Linked DNA regions of Homo sapiens: all the other regions are linked to region 4. Evidence: promoter capture Hi-C in 16 types of primary human blood cells and fetal thymus (Javierre and others, 2016). All regions are on one chromosome and are shown on one strand. Each heading gives the region's core, a stretch centred on a gene start or on the middle of the fragment in contact. The rest is flanking DNA. Distances are from core to core; before and after follow the strand shown. Region 1 overlaps GXYLT1 (glucoside xylosyltransferase 1). Region 2 has its middle 84 kb from the start of GXYLT1. Region 3 overlaps YAF2 (YY1 associated factor 2). Region 4 holds the start of PUS7L (pseudouridine synthase 7 like). Region 5 overlaps GXYLT1 (glucoside xylosyltransferase 1). Region 6 has its middle 4.6 kb from the start of LINC00938. Region 7 has its middle 8.5 kb from the start of GXYLT1.

The links. The method cuts DNA at HindIII sites, captures the fragments that hold promoters and counts their contacts. A CHiCAGO score of 5 or more calls a contact.
Region 1: a contact is called between a fragment that was not itself captured here and the fragment with the promoter of PUS7L in region 4, in 11 of 17 cell types (total B cells, monocytes, non-activated CD4 T cells and 8 more). The highest score is 11.0, in total B cells.
Region 2: a fragment that was not itself captured here is called in contact with the fragment with the promoter of PUS7L in region 4 in 2 of 17 cell types (monocytes and naive B cells); the score reaches 6.7 in monocytes.
Region 3: a contact is called between a fragment that was not itself captured here and the fragment with the promoter of PUS7L in region 4, in 4 of 17 cell types (fetal thymus, naive B cells, total B cells and 1 more). The highest score is 10.5, in fetal thymus.
Region 5: a contact is called between a fragment that was not itself captured here and the fragment with the promoter of PUS7L in region 4, in 5 of 17 cell types (naive B cells, total B cells, monocytes and 2 more). The highest score is 12.1, in naive B cells.
Region 6: a contact is called between a fragment that was not itself captured here and the fragment with the promoter of PUS7L in region 4, in 1 of 17 cell types (non-activated CD4 T cells). The highest score is 5.3, in non-activated CD4 T cells.
Region 7: a fragment that was not itself captured here is called in contact with the fragment with the promoter of PUS7L in region 4 in 2 of 17 cell types (monocytes and total B cells); the score reaches 8.7 in monocytes.

What each region holds. Positions count from the first base shown.
Region 1 is chr12:42,095,766-42,098,465 of GRCh38, reverse strand. It overlaps GXYLT1 (glucoside xylosyltransferase 1), which reads left to right. Exons shown (of 8, transcript NM_173601.2): 6 at 433-556; 7 at 852-1,024. Among named protein-coding and RNA genes, the nearest start is that of GXYLT1, 48 kb to the left of the region's middle. The HindIII fragment of the contact is 4,036 bases long and covers 1-2,700 here.
Region 2 is chr12:42,059,467-42,062,166 of GRCh38, reverse strand. No RefSeq gene overlaps it. Among named protein-coding and RNA genes, the nearest start is that of GXYLT1, 84 kb to the left of the region's middle. The HindIII fragment of the contact is 2,764 bases long and covers 14-2,700 here.
Region 3 is chr12:42,231,200-42,233,899 of GRCh38, reverse strand. The region is part of intron 2 of YAF2 (YY1 associated factor 2); the gene reads left to right. Among named protein-coding and RNA genes, the nearest start is that of YAF2, 5.7 kb to the left of the region's middle. The HindIII fragment of the contact is 420 bases long and covers 1,128-1,547 here.
Region 4 is chr12:43,757,513-43,760,212 of GRCh38, reverse strand. It overlaps PUS7L (pseudouridine synthase 7 like), which reads left to right and starts at 1,423. Exons shown (of 9, transcript NM_031292.5): 1 at 1,423-1,483. IRAK4 (interleukin 1 receptor associated kinase 4) reads right to left here and starts at 1,262. Exons shown (of 12, transcript NM_016123.4): 1 at 1,197-1,262. RefSeq lists enhancers at 556-615, 1,236-1,345, 1,686-1,735. The HindIII fragment of the contact is 3,611 bases long and covers 753-2,700 here.
Region 5 is chr12:42,118,380-42,121,079 of GRCh38, reverse strand. It overlaps GXYLT1 (glucoside xylosyltransferase 1), which reads left to right. Exons shown (of 8, transcript NM_173601.2): 3 at 1,909-2,080. Among named protein-coding and RNA genes, the nearest start is that of GXYLT1, 25 kb to the left of the region's middle. The HindIII fragment of the contact is 4,362 bases long and covers 1-2,700 here.
Region 6 is chr12:45,721,988-45,724,687 of GRCh38, reverse strand. No RefSeq gene overlaps it. Among named protein-coding and RNA genes, the nearest start is that of LINC00938, 4.6 kb to the left of the region's middle. The HindIII fragment of the contact is 466 bases long and covers 1,213-1,678 here.
Region 7 is chr12:42,152,042-42,154,741 of GRCh38, reverse strand. No RefSeq gene overlaps it. Among named protein-coding and RNA genes, the nearest start is that of GXYLT1, 8.5 kb to the right of the region's middle. The HindIII fragment of the contact is 1,854 bases long and covers 427-2,280 here.

The sequences.
Region 1 (2,700 bases), core at 63-2,562, 1.7 Mb after region 4:
AAATAAATCAGACTAATAGCCATCATGGTAAAAAATAATAATAGCTAACACTGAATATTTACCACGTGTCAGGTGCTATTCCAAGCACTTTAAATTTATATATTAACAATTTTAATCATCAACAACTCTGACGTAGGCCCAGACGTAGGTACCAAAACTATCTTCATTTTAAGATAAGGACACAGTTACTTTCGCTTTCTTTCGTGACTTACTAGTTTTGTCACTGCCACATACAACTTCCTTTTGTTATCTTCTGTTTTACTGTACAGCCCTTCTCACATTTAGGGTTAGAAATGTCACTTGATATTGTGAGGAGTTTGCATTTCTCTTTGTGGATTTGTAATGGTTGCTGTGGGAAGAATGAGGAACTGTCATCATGCTGCCATTTTAAGCCTGAAAGTCTGAAGCTCTTTTGAATGTTTTTATCAACAGAATGATATGACAACTGTACGACTACAATGGGGAGATATACTTATGCCATTGCTTAAAAAATACAAACTAAACATCACATGGGGTGATCAAGATCTATTGAATATCGTGTTTTTTCATAATCCAGGTAATTATTTAAATTCCTTTTATTTGCATTAAAAAAATCACAGATAATACTTAGTGAAAAAGGAAAACATGCACTTATCTGATTCTGTCTTATATTAATGATTATTGCTATTTATGTTTAAGACGGAGTAAAACTTTTCTTGAATTTTGCTTTAATTGGAAGAGATCTAAATGCCAGACATTTTTCATTAATTCTTACTTGTAAGAGCTGTATTTTTTAACTGAAAGTTTTGCATAATGTTACATCTGTGGAATTAGGGGTATTTGCTTCATTGTTTGGTCTTTTCTTTATGTAGAAAGCCTTTTTGTTTTTCCGTGTCAATGGAATTATCGACCAGATCATTGTATATATGGAAGCAATTGCCAAGAAGCAGAAGAAGGAGGAATCTTTATTCTTCATGGGAACAGAGGTGTTTACCATGACGATAAGCAACCAGCATTTAGAGCTGTTTATGAAGCACTGAGAAATGTAAGATTTGCCTTTCCTTTTTTTTAACTTTTTGTTTGAAAATACTTTCAAGCTAATGGTTAGTTTACAAAAATAGTACAAAGAATTTTTACACACACTCAGCCTCATCTGTTATTAACATTTTGCCTTATTTGCTTTGTCGTTGGTTTTCTCTCTACATTTTTTTTTCCTGAAAACAATGTAGTTGTTTTTTCAGAAAACTCAACTTAAATTTGATTGTAAGTTGCATACATTAAGTTCTTTTACCCCTAAAAACTTCAGTTTTTTTTTTTAAACTAAGAATAAGGACGCTCTTTTATTAACCACAGTACATATGTCAAGCTAGAAAATTTAATACTGATGGAATACATTAATCTGCCATCCATATGGCTTTACTCTCTTTTGATCTAGAACAGTTTCTCAGTCTTTGTCTTATATGACATTGGCATATTTGGACAATAGAGCCTCTTCACCCCTTTTTTTATTAGAATGTTCTTCATTTTGGCCTGTCTAATGTTTCCTTACGATTAGGTTCAGGATATACATGCCTGCTCAGAATTCTGTATAGGTGGTGATGTGTGCTTCTCAGGCCCTCATAGTCATAGTCCCTTTTGTCTGCCCCTCACTGGTGATGTTGATTTTGATCAGTCAGTCAAAATGTCATTTATTTTCTCCACAGTGTAGTTATTTTTCCTCTTATAAGCAGCCTATGGGAAGAACCTTTTAAAATCATGTAAACATTCTGCTTCTCATTAAAATTTTCCTACAAGATTTAGCATCTATCGTTGGTTCTTGCCCAAAACAATCTTCACCATGTTATTTGCAAATTGATGATTGTTCAACAATAGCACTCCTTCCACATACATCATTTGACACTTGGCATGCGTCTATAAGGAAGATCGCTCCCTTTTGCACATATATTGATGTTTATATAATCAGTATGAACCCTTTGATACTTATGTTCCTCCAATGATTTATAATTCATTTTTCCTTCTAATTATGTTAATGCTAAAGTTGTTCCAGGTATGGCCATTGGGAGCCCCATTGGCTACTTCTTGTGTCCCTTTGACATGTCCTCATCACTTTTTTTGAGTACCTCTTTTATTTTCTGTTCCAACAAAATATTCCAGGTTTATTTTATACTTTCCCTGCCCTACTGTTGAAATTAGTCATCTGTCAAAGGAGCTCTGGTTCCCTTTAGTAGGCTCTGGATATTAGGCATGTTTATTGCTACCAGGGTCTCATTGCTTTTGAGCTTTTTCAGTGGCAGAGCTAGGAAGTATAAGCGTGCACACATGATGTTAATGTGTTCACACCTGATTCTCTAATTCCATGCCATTCTTCCAAGGCTCTTCCTTTCTTCTACTCTATATTATATCTTCTTTCTTCCACAGTTAGAATCCTGACTTCTGTCATCAACACATTTTGTCATTTGCTTAATCTTACAGTCATTTAAAATAATTTCAGAAATGTTCCTTTCATACCATTGTCTCCACCCCCAAACCAGCTTACTAAAAATGGCTTAGGATTTGTTTTCAGTCCTTCCTCTTCCTCTCCCCTGCTCCCAGACAAGGGTGTGTACTCAATACTGTATTCAGAAGTTACTTGGGTTAGTTCTTTTTTTCCGATCTTTCAGTGTGATTATTTTATTTATTTGAAATACAATTGGATTCATTCGTTTCCGTATGCTTTCAGTT
Region 2 (2,700 bases), core at 146-2,645, 1.7 Mb after region 4:
TTGGCCCAAAGCTTAGTCACATGGACACATCTAGCTAGAATGAAAGTTGGAAAATTTTTACATATTCTGGATCTTCATGGGTCCAGATAGAATTTGTCATGTTTACTACAGAAGGCAAAGGAGAAGGAGAAGGAGAAGAAGAAGAAAAAGAAGAAGGAGGAGGAGGACAGAAAGAAGAAGAAAGCTATTGAAGGGCAACAATCAGTGTCCCATCTTGCACACCTAAAAAATGTGTTTGTTCTAGAGTTCCCATGTTGGATAATTTGGCTGTGTATAGAACTCTAATTTGGACAGCAACTGTCCTTTAAATGTGGAAGGCATATGTTCTATTGTCTTCTAAATTGTAATATTGTTATTGAGATGTCTGATGGAACTCTGATTCTTGAACTCTTGTTTATGGCCTGTCTTTCTGGAAACCATTAAAGTCTTTTCTCCTGGAGATCTTCATTCCACTGGGTAATTCTCGGAGTTCTGAAATTTCATGATGATGAACATGGGGATGAGCCTTTTCTCCTTCATTGTGCTGGGTACTTAAAAAACTTTTGATTTGGACATTTGACATTTGAACCTTTATTTCTGGGAAATTGTCTTGAATACTTTCCTTTCACTTTTTATCTCTCTTTCTGGAACATGTATTTTTCAGACATTTCATAGCCTGGGCTAGTTCTCTAATAAACCTATAATTTCTCTCCTACTTCCAAACTTCTATTGAGGTGCTTTTTTTTTTTCTTTTCTTTTTCTTTTTGGGACGGAGTTTCACTCTGTTGCCCAGGCTGGAGTGCAGTGGTGCAATCTCGGCTCACTGCAACCCCCACCTCCCAGGTTTAAGAGATTCTCTTGCCTCGGCCTCCTGAGCAGCTGGGACTACAGGCGTGCACCACCATGCCTGGCTAATTTTTGTATTTTTAGTAGAGACGGGGTTTCGCCATGTTGGCCAAGCTGGTGTTGAACTCCTGACCTCAGGTGATCTGCCTGCCTCAGCCTCCTAAAGTGCTGGGATTACAGGCGTGAGTCACCGCACTCAGCCTCTATTGAGTTTTTAATTAGTTTTCATATTTTTAATTTCCAAGAATTTTTTTTTGTTCTCTGAATGTCCTTTTTAATAGCATATTGTTCTTGTTTCAAGGATGCACTCTTATCTTTCCATGGATATTAATGATTTTGTATTAGCTCAGTCACAGTTTCTTTTTATTCTTTGTTTTGACCTCTGTCTTTCATGTTAGATTGAATATTTCTAATGACTGATGATTCTTGACTATCTTCTCATATTTAATATCGAGCTACCTAAAAGCTGATGGGAAACTCTATGCATGGGTGGGATTTATTACCTAATAGACTCTATAATACAGTAATCTATTTGTACTGTTTTATTGGGAGCCCCTGACTCTCAGTATGTATAGGTCTTTTTTGGGGGGTGGGGAGTACTGGTCAGATTCCTAAGAAACTCTTGTTTATGTGGTTTGAAACTGACTGCCATGTTTTGGAATCTAAGTAGGGGAAAGGGGTTGTTGCCTTTCACTTAAACCACCTCCCGTCTTTTTTTGGTAGAATACCCCTCATTCTCTGTGAAGCACAGTGTACCCAAATTCAGTCTTTTTGGTCGAACTCTCTAACCAGTTAAACTCCAGGCTTCTGCCATAGTGGAGGAATGGCGTTATATGGTGGCAAAAGGTGGAGGGCAGGTGTGGGAGTGGTGGGGGTGGGATGAAGGGGGAGGAAGGGTGAAATAGATGGCTGTGGTCTAGCAGCATCTTATATGAACTTTCAGCTAGTTCTCATGCATTAAGTCTATCAGTTCCCTTGCTTTCAGTGGCACCTTATGCTTCAGTTCCTGATATTTCCCCAGGATTTTAAAAATTCAGATAGCTTATTTCTGGGATTTCCCCATTGCCTGCTTACATTTAGGCAGAGAAGAGGATAATAACTTCTTCATTTGCTTTCCAGTTTTCAAATTTTTGTTGCTGCATTTATCTCTCTTCCAGTTTTCTTTGTTCATGTGGGTTTATGCCTTTCCTCTTTTACTATCTGTGTTTATCAGAGTTCTCCAGAGAGACAGACAGAACCAATAGGGATTATACATGAGAAAATTTATTATGGGAATTAGCTCACACAATAATGGAGGCTGAGAAGTGCAACCACCTGCCCTCTGCAAGCTGGAGAACCTGGAAAGCCAGTGGTGCAATTCAATCCGAGGCTGAAGATCTGAGAATTGGGACCTCCATTGTCTAAAAGCAGGAGAAGATGGATATCCCAGCTCAAGAAGAGAGAGAATTTGCCTTTCCTCTACATTTTTTTTTTTTCTATTTGGGCTCTTAATGGATTGATCATGGCCACCCAGATTGCTGAAGGCAATTTTCCTTACTCATTCTACTGATTCAAATGCTAACCTCTTTCAGAAACATCCTCACAGGCACACACAGAAATAATGTTTTGCCAGCTATCTGGGCATTCCTTAGCCCAGCCAAGTTGACATGTAAAATTAACCATCACACTTTCATTTTAGTGGAGGTTAGTGAAGAAGCAAAGGTAAATATGTGAGTTCAACTTACTATGTTTAATTCAACAATTTGTTGCTGTTTTTAACATAAGGAGTTTTAATTCTCTTTTCTATCTGTTCTTCTCAGTTTACTGTCTAATTTCTAGAGATGCTAATTAGCATATTAGCTTAAAAATGTGCAAAAGACTCATTTAGCTAATCTC
Region 3 (2,700 bases), core at 88-2,587, 1.5 Mb after region 4:
TGTGCCCAGCCTATCTGAAGATTCTTATAAGGCAAGAAATGTCCCAAATATAAATGCAAGAAACTTTAGGAAATTAAGGATCATTCTTGGCTGGCCCAGTGGCCCACACCTGTAAGCCCAGCACCTTGGGAGGCTGAGACAGGAGGATTTCTTGAGGCCAGGAGTTTGAGACCAACCTGGGCAACACAGTGAGATCTCGTCTCTACTAAAAATTAAAAAAATTAGCTGGGTGTGGTGGTGCATGCCTGTGGTCCCAGCTACTCAGGAGGCTGAAGTGGGAGGATCCCTTGAGCCCCAGAGTTCGAGGTTGCAGTGAGCTGTGATCATACCACTGCACTCCAGCCTGGGCAACAGAGTGAGACCTTGTCTCAAAAAAACAAAATTCTGAGTCATCAGAGAAAATGAAATATTAAATATTAAGGATAGTCTGTATGAGGGTGATAATCAATGTGTGATGATTAATTTAAGACTGGTGTCTTATTGGTACTTCATCTAGTAGTGGACAGTTACTTAATATTGCTTAATTCAGATAGCAAATATTTAGAAATGAAAATGATAGAATTATTGGTTTGGGTTTCAAACTGTGGTCTAAATGGTTCATACCAGGCTTTCAAATGTAACAGGTAATGTTACATTTTGTTAGAGGATATTATAACAGTCCTTTAGGTTTCTCATAGGTGTTATTTTAGAGAGCTATAAAAAAGATTTCACATAGTAGAAAGAGTGCTAGATGTTACACTAGTATGATTTTGGTAACCTGGGTTCATATCTCATTTCATATCAACCATTTCAATATTCAGCATTCAGCAAATGTTTATTGAGCATCTTATTTAAGGGCTGAGTTGGATACTAGACATACAGTGGTGAGCAAAATGGATTTTTTTGTTTCTTTAAAATTTTACAGTTTTGCAAATTAGAACCGCTTTAACTGTACCAAGCTCTATATGTGAGGTTTAGTGTTAGTAGATCTTTCCTTTATGTGTAGGCTGAAGAGGTGGAACTTCTTCATTAAAAATATATGTTGTTTATAACTGAACACAGTATTATTATTATGGTTAGGTAAAAAGAGTGAGTTATTTCAGCTTCTTTTAAAAGTAAGCTATAAAATCCACATTCTGAAAGAAGCTTAAACCAACTATCATCTGGTAGAAATCTTTTCAGCATCGTTGTTTTCTTGTCATACTTGCTTTATGTCTTCAAATTTGAGGTTTGGCACTGATTCTTCTAGACTTTTGGTGTAGGAATGGGAGAAAAAAATTGAGGACCATCTACATAAGTCCTTTTTAAAGAAATGCATGGTTCCTGAGCCGCCTCCTGTCTATCTGAGGAGCCTTTCTAGCAACCATTTAGTTGTTCAGAGACTCCTTATTCTAGGAGATTTCTTACTTGTTTGTTTTTTGTCCTGTAAGAGGACTCACACTGGTTAATTGTATATGGGTAAATTTTACAAGTGATTATTAGTGTTTGTGTAGTCTGGATATCAGAGTGGTTTTCAAAGTGTAGTCTGAGGGACACTGAGAGTCCCTGAGATCTTTTTAGTTGAAGCTTTCTATGAGGTTCACACTGTTTTTATAATAATTTGAAGATGTTATTTGCCTTTTTCACTGTGATGGTGCAGAGGCAGTGATGGGTAAAACTGCCAGCACCTTAGCATGAATCAAAGCAGTGGCACCAAATTGCTATCTTCATTGTAATATTCACCACCATGTACATGCATGCAGTAAGAATAATGTCAGTTTGAATTAAGAATATCCTTGAAGCAGAAAAATTTACTAATTTTATTACATCTCATATTTTTAAAAATATTCTGTCTGACCAAATGGGAACTACACATAAAGCACTTCTACTGTATACCAAAGTACAGTGGTTAAGGGAAAGCACATGTGTAGTTTGTCTTGCAAGCAGAGCTAGTCTTTTTGTCATAGAGCATCATTTTTACTTGAAAGACTACCTGAAATACCATAGTTATTCAGACTTGGATATTTAGCATATATTTTCTTGAAAATGAATATATTCAAAAAATATATCACTTCAAGGAAAACACTTGATACTATATGTTGCCAGTGATAATCATTCAAGTGAAAATTAGAATTTTTGAAAATTTGTAGCAACAATGAGCTTTAGAGTTTCTGTGTATAAAGACTTTTCTGAGAAGATTAGTGGTGGTATCAATGAATATAATTTCTGATATTTCACCATGAAATGTGTCAGCATTTGGAAGCTACGCATAACTCAGCAAACAAATGGTTCCTAGTTACCGATGTATGATTTTACAAAACTGTAATGGGTAATCCATCAAAGTACAAAATACCAACAGATTTTAAGGGAACACTGAAAACTTCATTGATGTGGTTTCAGATTTCATATTGCAACTAACCTTTGAGAAACAACTGTGTTTTTATGTAGTATCAAAGAATAACACCTATAGTTATCTGAAAATGCTATTCAACTACTTACCTCTTTTCAACTGTATATCTGTGAGAGTCCAGATTTTCTTAATATTTTTGGACCAAAACAACATATTGCAACAAATTGAATGCTGAGATAGATGTGACAATCCAGGTGTCTTCTACTAACCAGATGTTAGAGGTTTGCAAAAATATACGATGCCACTCTTCATACAAAATATCTTTGTTTTGGAAAATAATAAGTTTTTAAAATAAAAATATGTCATTTAATATGTGATGTATTTATTTTTTA
Region 4 (2,700 bases), core at 174-2,673:
AGTGAGAAGACAGCATAACCAAGTTTACCGATATTTACTGAGATAGAGAAGGCTGAGGAAGGAGCAAGTTTGGCCTGGAATATCAGAAGCTCAGTTTGGAGAGGTAGAAAGCAAACTTCAAATGAACGCTCTGCAGGAAAACAGAAGAAATTTGAACTTCCCGATAGCCCTCTTCAAGGACCACTCCAAGAAAGGGAAAAGGCAGATTTTAGTATCCTCTGCTTACCAGGGGCCTTGGGCAGTTACGTTTTTGAAGCACTAATAGCGCCGTTTGTTCCCATTCTAAATGCTCAAAGTGCTTTCTCGCTTTCTCAGGGTTTGCTTTTTTTTTTTTTTTTTTCTTTTGAGACGGAGTCTCCCTCTGTTGCCCAGGCTGGAGTGTAGTGGCACGATCTCGGCTCACTGCAACCTCTGCCTCCTGGGTTCAAGCGATTCTCCTGCCTCAGCCCCCGGAGTAGCTGGCATTACGGGCGCCCGCCACTATGCCAGCTAAATTTTGTATCTTAGTAGAGACAGGGGTTTCACCATGTTGGCCAGGCTGGTCTCGAACTCCTGACCTCAAGCGATCCGCCCGCCTGGGCCTCCCAAAGTGCTGGGATTACAAGCATGAGCCACCGCACCTGGACAGGGTTTGCTTTTATCCCTTTGTCTCCCTCTGGCTTCCAAGCTGACAGGTACACTTTTTTCCCCCATCTGCGAATGTACTCATCTGATCCCATAAGCCGCCTCCACTTTCTAATTCCCTGGAAGCTTGGAGGCCGGAGAAACAAGCGAATTACAATCGTGTGGAGGCTCAGCGAGCTGCTGGCGCCACAGGCATCTGTCAGGTGCTGGCCTGACTTCCTGGTTCTGGGGAAAAGAGACTTCATTTCGCAGTCGGGTTCACGGAATCCAGGGCCTGAGAGGTGAGAAACTTGAGGTCCGACTGCGCCCCAGAACAGCTGGGTGACGTCCCTCCAAGCCTCAGGCTCTTCCTCAGGGCCGACGAACTTCTTGATTACCGGGGACCTACCCAAGTCTTTCTTCTGGAGTAAGCTCTGTCAAAGGAACCCACTTCCTCTCTAACTTTTCTCACGGATGATAAAGAGATTTCCGTTCCGCAGCCGACCCCAGCAACCCTGGGGCAGAGGTGCCGAGGCCTGGAAGCGGACCTCGGACGACGTTTGACCGAGGCATTAAGGCGGGGAATGCCTTACCTGCCCGGGCGCGGGCTGCTGAAGCCGGCGACAGAAGAACCAGCCGAACTAGGAAGCGCCGCGAAGGGGCGGGGCCTGCCGGGTTGGCCCCGCCCCACTTCCCCGATGGGCTTCATCTTGGCGCCTCCAGGCGGCTCCACAAAGTGAGAAACTCCACGTATTGCGTAGGGCGCGTCTTTACGTGGGCGCCTGCCCCTTTAATTACGCCCCTGTCGGAGGCTGAAACACTTAAGGCTTCCGGGCATGCGCACAGCGTTGTGCAAATGAATGCCTTCCACTGAACCGAGGTAGACGGGGTCGAGTTTCTTGCGCGATGGTGGGCTTGTATGTGTGTGTGTGTGTGTGTGTGTGGGGGGGGGGGGTGACGAGGTTGGCATTGAGGATCCATACCCTTTGCGCCCAAAGAAAGGTGACGTGGACTAGTGTCGTGCCTTTGGACAGGCAGAGTAAGAGGAGGGAGAAGAAACAGGTAGAGCTGCTGGCCTTGTCGGGGACACCTTTGGACGTGCTGGAGGGCAACGACGCCCTAGTTTTCTGTGAAGTTAAGTAGCTTCTGCAGGACTGGGTTCAGTATTTCTAGTACCTTCTCAGGATCCCTCCTCCGCCAACGAATTCCTCAACCACGGGCCAAGCAAACTACTCCCCCGCCCACTGTCAGCAGCAGTCTCTGTTGAATGGGAATACTGCACCTTCAGGCTTAACGCCACGTGGGCTCCTTTGCTGTCCTCCAGGTCAGTTCCACTCTTCTACCAGGATGCTGGAATTACATTCTCCCCAAGTTTCCCTACCTGTTTCACTTGCTTAGAATGTCTGTCTTCCTCCTTTTTTCTGGGAGAAAGAAAAGATCATTATTCTTTCAGGGCCAATCCCTACAGCTATGTTCTTGACCATGCTGTTTTGTTTTTGAACTCCTCTAACTGTTACTCCATCGGATACATCTTGCTCATTTCCATCAGAATCATCTTACAATTCCAAAAGCATGTTTTGGAATTGTGTCACTTTTCTACTCAAACACTAACAGTAGCCATCCATTGACCACCCAATAGATTCTAAGTCCTTGTCAGGGCATTCAACATCTTCCATAATCTGGTACTAACTCAGCTACATTTTCCAGCACTGTAGTCTCCCTGCATTCCCATCCCCACTGCTCTGTATCTGGACTGCTTGTTTTTCTTGCACACATTGCATGTTTTGTTTGTACATTACTTGTGAGGTCTCTGCCTCATTTCTATCTCTTGAACTATGGAGGACTTAGATGGCCACTTCTTGCATTATGCCTCTTCTAATTATCTTCCACTTCATTCCTACAGCTCTTATTTTGTACTAGTTATTTCATTTATTTAACAATAGTATTTATTGCAGACCTACCATGTGCTTGACACTGTTCAAAATGTGTGATCATCAGTAGTAAATAAGGCAGACAAGGTTACTCCTCACGTGGAACTAACATTCTCTTTGGAGGAGATATACAATAAATAATAAAGAAAAACTTTACCTAGAACTG
Region 5 (2,700 bases), core at 57-2,556, 1.6 Mb after region 4:
GCCTAGTTTTTAACTTGTCATTGTGGCTTCCACTGTTTTTGAGATGAACTGGATTCATGTCCCCTCTTTATAGACGTAGAAAGAGTAGAAAGTCTCCCCTCCATCATTAGTTTCAGTGTTATGAACTGATGGGCTCAGCACAAAAGAGGGCAAAGGACAGAGGGTACAAACAAGGGAAGAGACATTGCTTCTTTCTAATTACAGCCAACAGAAAATAATAGAGAGCTTTAAAAAGACCCAAACTGGCCAGGTGCGCTGGCTCATGCCTGTAATCCCAGCACTTTGGGAGGCTGAGGTGGGAGGATCCCTTGAGGCCAGGAGTTCGAGACTAGCCTGGGCAACATAGTGAGACCCCATCTCTACAAAAAATAAAAAAAAAGATTAGTTGGACATGGTGGTCGCACATCTGTGGTCCCAGCTGCTTGGGAGGCTGAGATGGGAAGATGGCTTGAGCCTGGGAGGTTGAGGCTGCAGTGAGCTATGAATGCACCACTGTACTCCATCATGGGTGATAGAGTGAGACCCTGTCTCTAAAAAGAAGGAAAAAAAAGTAAAAAGACCGAAGCTAATGCTAACACCAGACGTGAAAGAAGTGGCACAGCAGAAGCAAGAGGTATTAAAAGTTACTTAAGCCTGTTGGTATCCACTGCTGCACTGTGTTAGAAGTAGATTCTAAAGACATACTAGTGTTTGACTAGCATGTTTTAGACCATCTCAGAAGTGTTTACATCTTCCTAGATATTTGGTAAATGGGAATGAATGTGTGTTATTAATGTGAAGGACATTTTTTCTTGTAGTCAGCATGGTTTAAGATTGAATGTAATACTGAAACATTTATGGATGAAATTATGACTGGGTTTGCTTTACAGTGAACTGTTGGTTGGTGAGAGGTGGTATGGGGAGAGGTTTCATATGAAGTAAGAATGTTTTTAAGGGTTTTTTTTTAATAACAATGTTTTTAAAAAATTGAATGAAAGACCTTCAAATCTATCTTTCTCAATGGGTTCCTTGAGAGAGTTAAGCTCTGATTTCCTAAGGCATCTAATGTGAGTAATGAATTAATTTATTTACTGGCAGCCACAGTGGTGCTAGTTATGTATTCTTGGGAGAATTGAGAAAGTTGTCATTTTTTGTGTGTTCTGTAGTTTGAAAGGAGGAAAATTGGTGAGAAGAGCTGGTTGAGAGTGTGGAAATACGTGATTGATTCAACATTTTTAAAATGTTTTGTAATTTGATGTTTGCCCTTTTCTTATTTTTTAAATAAATACATTCTTTTTTTTGAGACAGGATCTTGCTCTGTCTGGAGTAAAGTGGCACAATTACAGCTCACTGCAGCTTCTATCTTCTGGGCTCAAAATATCCTCCCATGTCAGCCTCCTGAGTAGCCGGGGCTACAGGTGCATGCCACCACTCCTGGCTAATTTTTGTATTTTTTGTAGGGATGGGATCTCGGTATGTTGCCTAGGCTGGTCTTGAACTCCTGGACTGAAGTGACCCTGCTGCCTTGGTCTCTCAAAGCTCTGGGATTACAGACTTGGCCTAGTTTGTTTTATAAATAAAAATTTTGAACTTCAGTTTTTCTTTCTTTCTTTTTTTTTTCCTTCCCTCCCTCCCTTTCCCTTTGCCTTTCCCTTTCTCTTTCTTCTCTTTCTGTCCTTTCTTTCTTCTCTGTCTTTCACAGGGTCTGGCTCTGTTGCCCAGGCTGGAGTATAGTGATGCAGTCATAGCTTACTGCAGCATTGAACTCTTGGTTTCAAGTGATCCTCCTGCCTTAGCTTCCCGTGTAGCTGGGACTGCAGGCATGAGTCACAACATCTGGCTTTGAGCTTCACTTTTTGAGCATGATGAAAGTACACATTGTAAACATATACTAAAACTGTTGAAAAATGTGGTTTTCTTTCCTATTAGGTACAGTCTGAAAATACAGCCTGTTGAGAAAATGCATCTAGCTGTAGTTGCCTGTGGTGAAAGACTGGAAGAAACTATGACCATGTTGAAGTCAGCTATCATTTTCAGCATCAAACCTCTTCAATTCCATATTTTTGCTGAAGATCAGCTACATCATAGCTTTAAAGGCAGAGTAAGTATTTGAGACATAGTCAAGGTTGTAGAGTTGAATATTTAATAATATACTATAATAGAATGTTGTTGTAATAGTCTGTTCACATTGCTAGAAATAACTACCTGAGACTTGGTAATTTATAAAGAAAAGTTTAATTGACTCACAGTTCAGCATTGCTGGAGAGGCCTCAGGAAACTTAGAATCATGGCAGAAGGCAAAGGGGGAAGTAAGGCATGTCTTACATGGCAGCAGAAGAGAGAGAAAGAGAAAGAAGACCACACTTTTAAACCATGAGACCTCATGAGAACTGATGGTTATCACAAGAACAGTAAGGGGGAAACGGCCCCCATGATCGAGTCATCTCCCACTAGGTCCCTCCCTTGACACGTGGGAATTACAATTTGAGATGAGATTTGAGTGGCAACACAGAGCCAAACCATATCAGTTGTTTTATTTCTTAATTGCACAAAAATATTTATTCTGTAACACTGCCCTTGTAAGTGGGGAGTGCTCCTTGAACCACTTCCATCTGAGTCCAGATCTAACGTGAAAGAGGAAGGTTCATTTTTGAACAGCAGTGGGCTACTTAAAAGTAAGTTCTTTGTCAAAAATGGAGGTTTTATTTTAGTGACTCTAGT
Region 6 (2,700 bases), core at 196-2,695, 2.0 Mb before region 4:
TGATTTCATTAGTTGTTTGGGTTGTTTAATCCAGAATTTTTAAAACTGTTATGGGTTTAATTTGCTACATTTGTCCATTCTTATTCATTTCATCTGTTTTGATCACTGAAAAGTTGTCTAAAAACTGTGCTCATTATACACAGTTTATAGTATTTTAATACTTTGTTTATAGTATTTAATAGCTTCTGAAAACTTTAAGAGAACATACTAAACCAAGGAACTATTTATTAATGGTAATCTATATTTAGTAATAAATATATTTGTAACTTACTAAATGTAAGTTTACTAAATGTAGATTACTAAATCACTGAGTAAATATTTCTTGAATATTTGGACAAGAGATGGGGGGAGGGAGAATGACTTGACCCTCAAGAAACTTAACTGCTACCTTTAAAAGGTTATAATGAAGCTGGGCACAGTGGTACACACCTGTAGTCCCAGCTACTCAGGAGGCTGAGGCAGGAGGACCCCTTGAGCCGAGGAGTTCGAGGCTCTGTCTCTTAAAACAAAAAAAGTTATAAAAATATTCAGACTGGAGGGTTCCTAACTTTTAATACTTAAGCAGGGTCTTTACCACAGAGTTAAATTTAAAATTCTGTTTAGAATGGTAACAAATTTAATTATGTACAAAACAGCATCACTTTAGTGTTAGGATCAGTGTTACTCAAAGTGTTGTAATGTTAATAACAAGCATTTAAATCACATTGTTTGAAAACTGGGATCTACAAAAAATATGATTCCAATAATTAACTTTTTAATTATGGGAAAGGCAAGGGAATGTTCAGTGAATGTAAAAAAAATATACTACTGAGCAAACAAATTGTTTTAATGAATTTTGATTTTCTGTTTTAATTTTTTGGTACATTGACTCTTCTTGACATGGCACTTTGCTATTAATTAAAAAAAATTAAACCCCAAAGACAAATTAATTCTGTATTTAATGCAGATTTAATTCTTGACTAGCTGTAATGCTTAAGGAGTTGGCAGTCTTGTTGGCAAAACAATAAAATAGGAATTAAGCTGAAATGTAAAATTGTGTAATAATTAGGTTTCATTAAAGTATATATAGTTTCCTTAATAACTACATGAGTCAGTAGTGTTGACTTAATAATAAGTTATTTAGCTTTTGCTTTTCTCTGAAAACATATCAAACTCTTCATATATAGCATCGAAATAGATATTCAACCTGAGCCACTGTAAATTGTTGAAGCTTATTGCTATACATTAAGGGAAATTCTATCCAACAGTTCAGTGTAAACAATTTTTTAAAGGTGCTATGATTCTTTAACATGATTTGTAGTATGTAGAACTCAAGTATTCTAGAATAATCTTTGCATGATAATGTATGAGAAACATTTATAAACAGTCCTTCAGGTGTACAAAATAACTGACATAATATTTTGCATTTAACTACACTGCCTCCAAGTATTTTAAACAAAGATGAAATTTTTAGAGTATTGTGCTATATTTTTATAACTGAATTTCCCTCTTATTAACAATACTCATAACATTTAGCCATTAATGATTACTGATAGCTTAAATAAGAGTGTAGTTTCTGTTTCTAATGTCTATTAATTTTAACCCCATTTAAAGATATTTCCTACTTATCATACTCAAAGTTAATCAGAAGTTAAATAAATGATGGTCCTTCTGGTTCTCTGGAAACTGAAAAGAAGCTTCTGTTTCTTTAGGGTATGCAGGAATTTTTTTTCTTCCCAGTGAGCTGAATCCATCCTTTACGCTGCTATTTGCTAACCTCAGTTGTTTTTCTGCTCCATTAAAGTTGAGGCCACCAAAAATAGTAGTAATATCACAACTACAAAACCCTGGGTGGATTTGTACCCATTGCACATACACTTCTTGCTGCCAATTCCTAAGAGACTTTTGAAATAATAGTATATTCCCAGCTGGACAATATATTCTACTTGTGGCCTATGTATAGTGTTCAACAAGTCCAGGAGCCCTATGAAACGGAATGTGTTTACTGCATTTTTCTAGGGAGAAGTTCTCAGCAGGCACGGGCATCTTAAAGACCCTGTGATGCCCAAAAGGTTAAAGCTCTATTTGCTAATGACAGATAGTAAGTTTGGAGGATTGCTTCAGGTGCAGCATTTTATTTTGTGGGTTGTTGGCCTGTAGGGAAAAACATTTTGAAATTGTAGTTAAGGAATACCACTTCAGTTCATCAAATTAAAAAAATTATGGCAAATAAGCAAAAATCTATTTCTAAAGAACTACATACAATATATTCTTACAGAAAATTTTAGATTAAATGCATGTAACTGTTTTTTTGGTTTGCCATGTATTGAAAATGGATGGATGGGGGATTACATTAGTTGATGTATTTATTTATTTATTTTTGAGGCGGAGTCTCACTCTGTTGCCCAGGCTGGGGTGCAGTAGCGCAGTCTCGGCTCGCAACCTCTGCACCCTAGGCTCAAGCAACACTCGCACCTCCACCTCCTGAATAGCTAGGACTACAGGTGCACGCACCATACCACACCTGGCTAATTTTTGTATTTTTTTATAGAGACAGGGGTCTTGCTATGCTGCCCAGGCTGGTCTTAAACTCCTGAGCTCAAGCAATCTGCATGCCCAAGCCATTGGCCCATCTTGGCCTTCTAAAGTGCTGGGATTACAGGCGTGAGTCACCATGGTCAGCCCATATTAATTTAAAGTAGGCTTCAAATATAATTATTC
Region 7 (2,700 bases), core at 104-2,603, 1.6 Mb after region 4:
AAATTGGGTTCAGGCTGGGTGCGGTGGCTCACACCTGTAATCCCAGCACTTTGGGAGGCCGAGGTGGGCAGATCACCTGAGGTCGGGCGTTCGAGACCAGCCTGGCCAATACGGTGAAACCCCGTCTCTACTAAAAATACAAAAAATTAGCTGGTCATAGTGGCAGGCACCTGTAATCCCAGCTACTTGGGAGACTGAGGCAGGAGAATTGCTTGAAACCAGGAGATGGAGGTGGCAGTGAGCAGAGATCCCACCCCTGCACTCCAGCCTGGGTGACAGAGCGAGACTCCATCTCAAAAAAAAAAAAAAAAAAAAATTGAGTTCAGTTTTAATAATTATGTAGCCTTGGTTGTCTGCTTATCTGCATTCTAACTTTTTAGTCTTTTTTTTAATCAGAGGAAAAGATTTAATATAAAGATTCAAGCTTCACATCATGACAAATAATAAATTGTGAAATATAATTTTTTCTTCTTCTTTTCGTATTTTTTATAAATATTGGGTTTCACAACATTGCCCAGGCTGGTCTTGAACTCCTGGGCTCAAGCCATCCTCTCGAGTTGGCCTCCTAAAGTATTGGGATTATAGGTGTGAGCCATGGAGGCTGGTGGTGGCTCTTTTTCTATTTTAATCTAATTTCTTATTCTTGATCTTTTTTGTATTTTTCCAGAGTTTGATTTTTATCTACTTGTTTTTCTTTTGTTTTTATAAATGGCCACAAATATCTAGTGTAAATCAGGCCAAATAGTATTTAAAAAAAAAATCTTCCTTATTTCAAGTTGTAAGAATAAACTCCTAGGGGAACTATTTGGGGCAAGGATCCAGTGAGATACATACCTCCCCATCTGGAATTCCTGAGGAGTGGAAATAATACATACAGTTTTAGTAGGTCTTTAGATTACATCTAGATTTAAATCGGCTGACCTACCTGGAAGAAGGGAGTTTGGATGAAAGCTACCACCTCATCATCATTTTTCTAATAAATCTTTTAGCAAGAAAATTCAGAAACTAAATGGATATTATTTTCATTATCCTCTTTTAATTCATAATCCAACAATAAAATGGTCCTGTGTTTACTTTTGGAGTCAGCAAGAATGGGAAGAGTTGGAAGGTTATAAAACTAGTTTGGGAGAAGACTTCTAAAGGACAAAGAAAATGACGGTGAACACATTTTGTTTTTTAATTTTTAATTTCTGTGGGTACATAGGTGTATATATTTACAGGGTACATGAGATGTTTTGATACAGACATGTAATGCATAATAATCACATCATGGAGATTGGAGTATCCATCTCCTCAAGCATTTATCCTTTGTGTTACTGACAATCCAATTATACTCTTTTAGTTATTTTTAAATGTACAATTATGTTATCAAATAGAAGGTCTTATTCATTCTATTTTTTTGTACTCATTAACTATCCTCACCACCCCCACCATCTACCCTTCCCAGCCTCTAGTAACCATCCTTCTACTATCTGTCTCCATGAGTTTAACTGTTTTAATTTTTAGATCCCACAAATAAGTGAGAACATGGGATTTTTGTCTTTCTGACCCCGGCTTATTTCACTTAACATAATCATCTCCAGTTCCATCCATGTTGTTGCAAATGACTGGAACTCATGTTTTTTATGGGTGAGTAGTACTCCATTGTTTGTATGTACCACATTTTCTTTATCCAGTCATCTGTTGATGGACATTTACTTTGCTCCCAAATCTTAGCTATTGTAAACAGTGCTGTAATAAACACCAGAGTGCAGATATCTCTTCAATATACTGATTTCCTTTCTTTTGGGTATATACCCAGCAATGGGATTGCTGGATACTATGGTAGCTCAATTTTTAGTTTTTTTTTTGAGGAACCTCCAACCTGTTCTCCATAGTGGTTGTACTAATTTACATTCCCACCAACAATGTACAAGGATTCCCTTTTCTCCACATCCTTGCCAGCATTTGTTATTGCCTGTTTTTTGGATAAAAGTCATTTTAACTGGGGTGAGATGATATCTCATTGTAGTTTTGATTTGCATTTCTCTGATGATCAGTGATCTTGAGCACCTTTTCATATGCCTGTTTGCCATTTGTACATCTTCTTTTGAGAAATGTCTATTCAAACATTTGGCCCATATTTTGATTGGATTATTAGATTTTTTTTTCCTACAGAGTGTTGCTTGAGCTCCTTATATATTCTGGTTATGAATCCCTGGTCAGAGGGGTAGTTTGCAAATATTTTCTCCAATTCTGTGGGTTTCCTCATGTTGTTGTTTCCTTTGCTGTGCAGAAGCTTTTCAACTTGATATGATTCCATTTGTCCATTTTTGCTTTGGTTGCCTGTGCTTTTGGGGTGTTACTCAAGAAATTTTTGCCAAGACCAAGGTCCTGGAGATTTTCCCCAATGTTTTCTTTTAGTAATTTCATAGTTTGAGGTCTTAGAGTTAAGTCTTTAATCCAGTTTGATTGGATTTCTGTATACGGTGAGAGATAGGGGTCTAGTTTCATTCTTATGCATATGGATATCCAGTTTTCCCAGCACCATTTATTGAAGAGATTGTCTTTTCCCATTGTATATTGTTGGCACCTTTGTCAAAAATGAATTCATTGTAGCTGTGTGGACTTGTTTCTGGATTCTCTTTTCTTTTCTATTCTTTTTTTTTTTTTTTTTTTGGAGACAGAATCTCACTGTGTCACCCAGGCGGGAGTACAGTG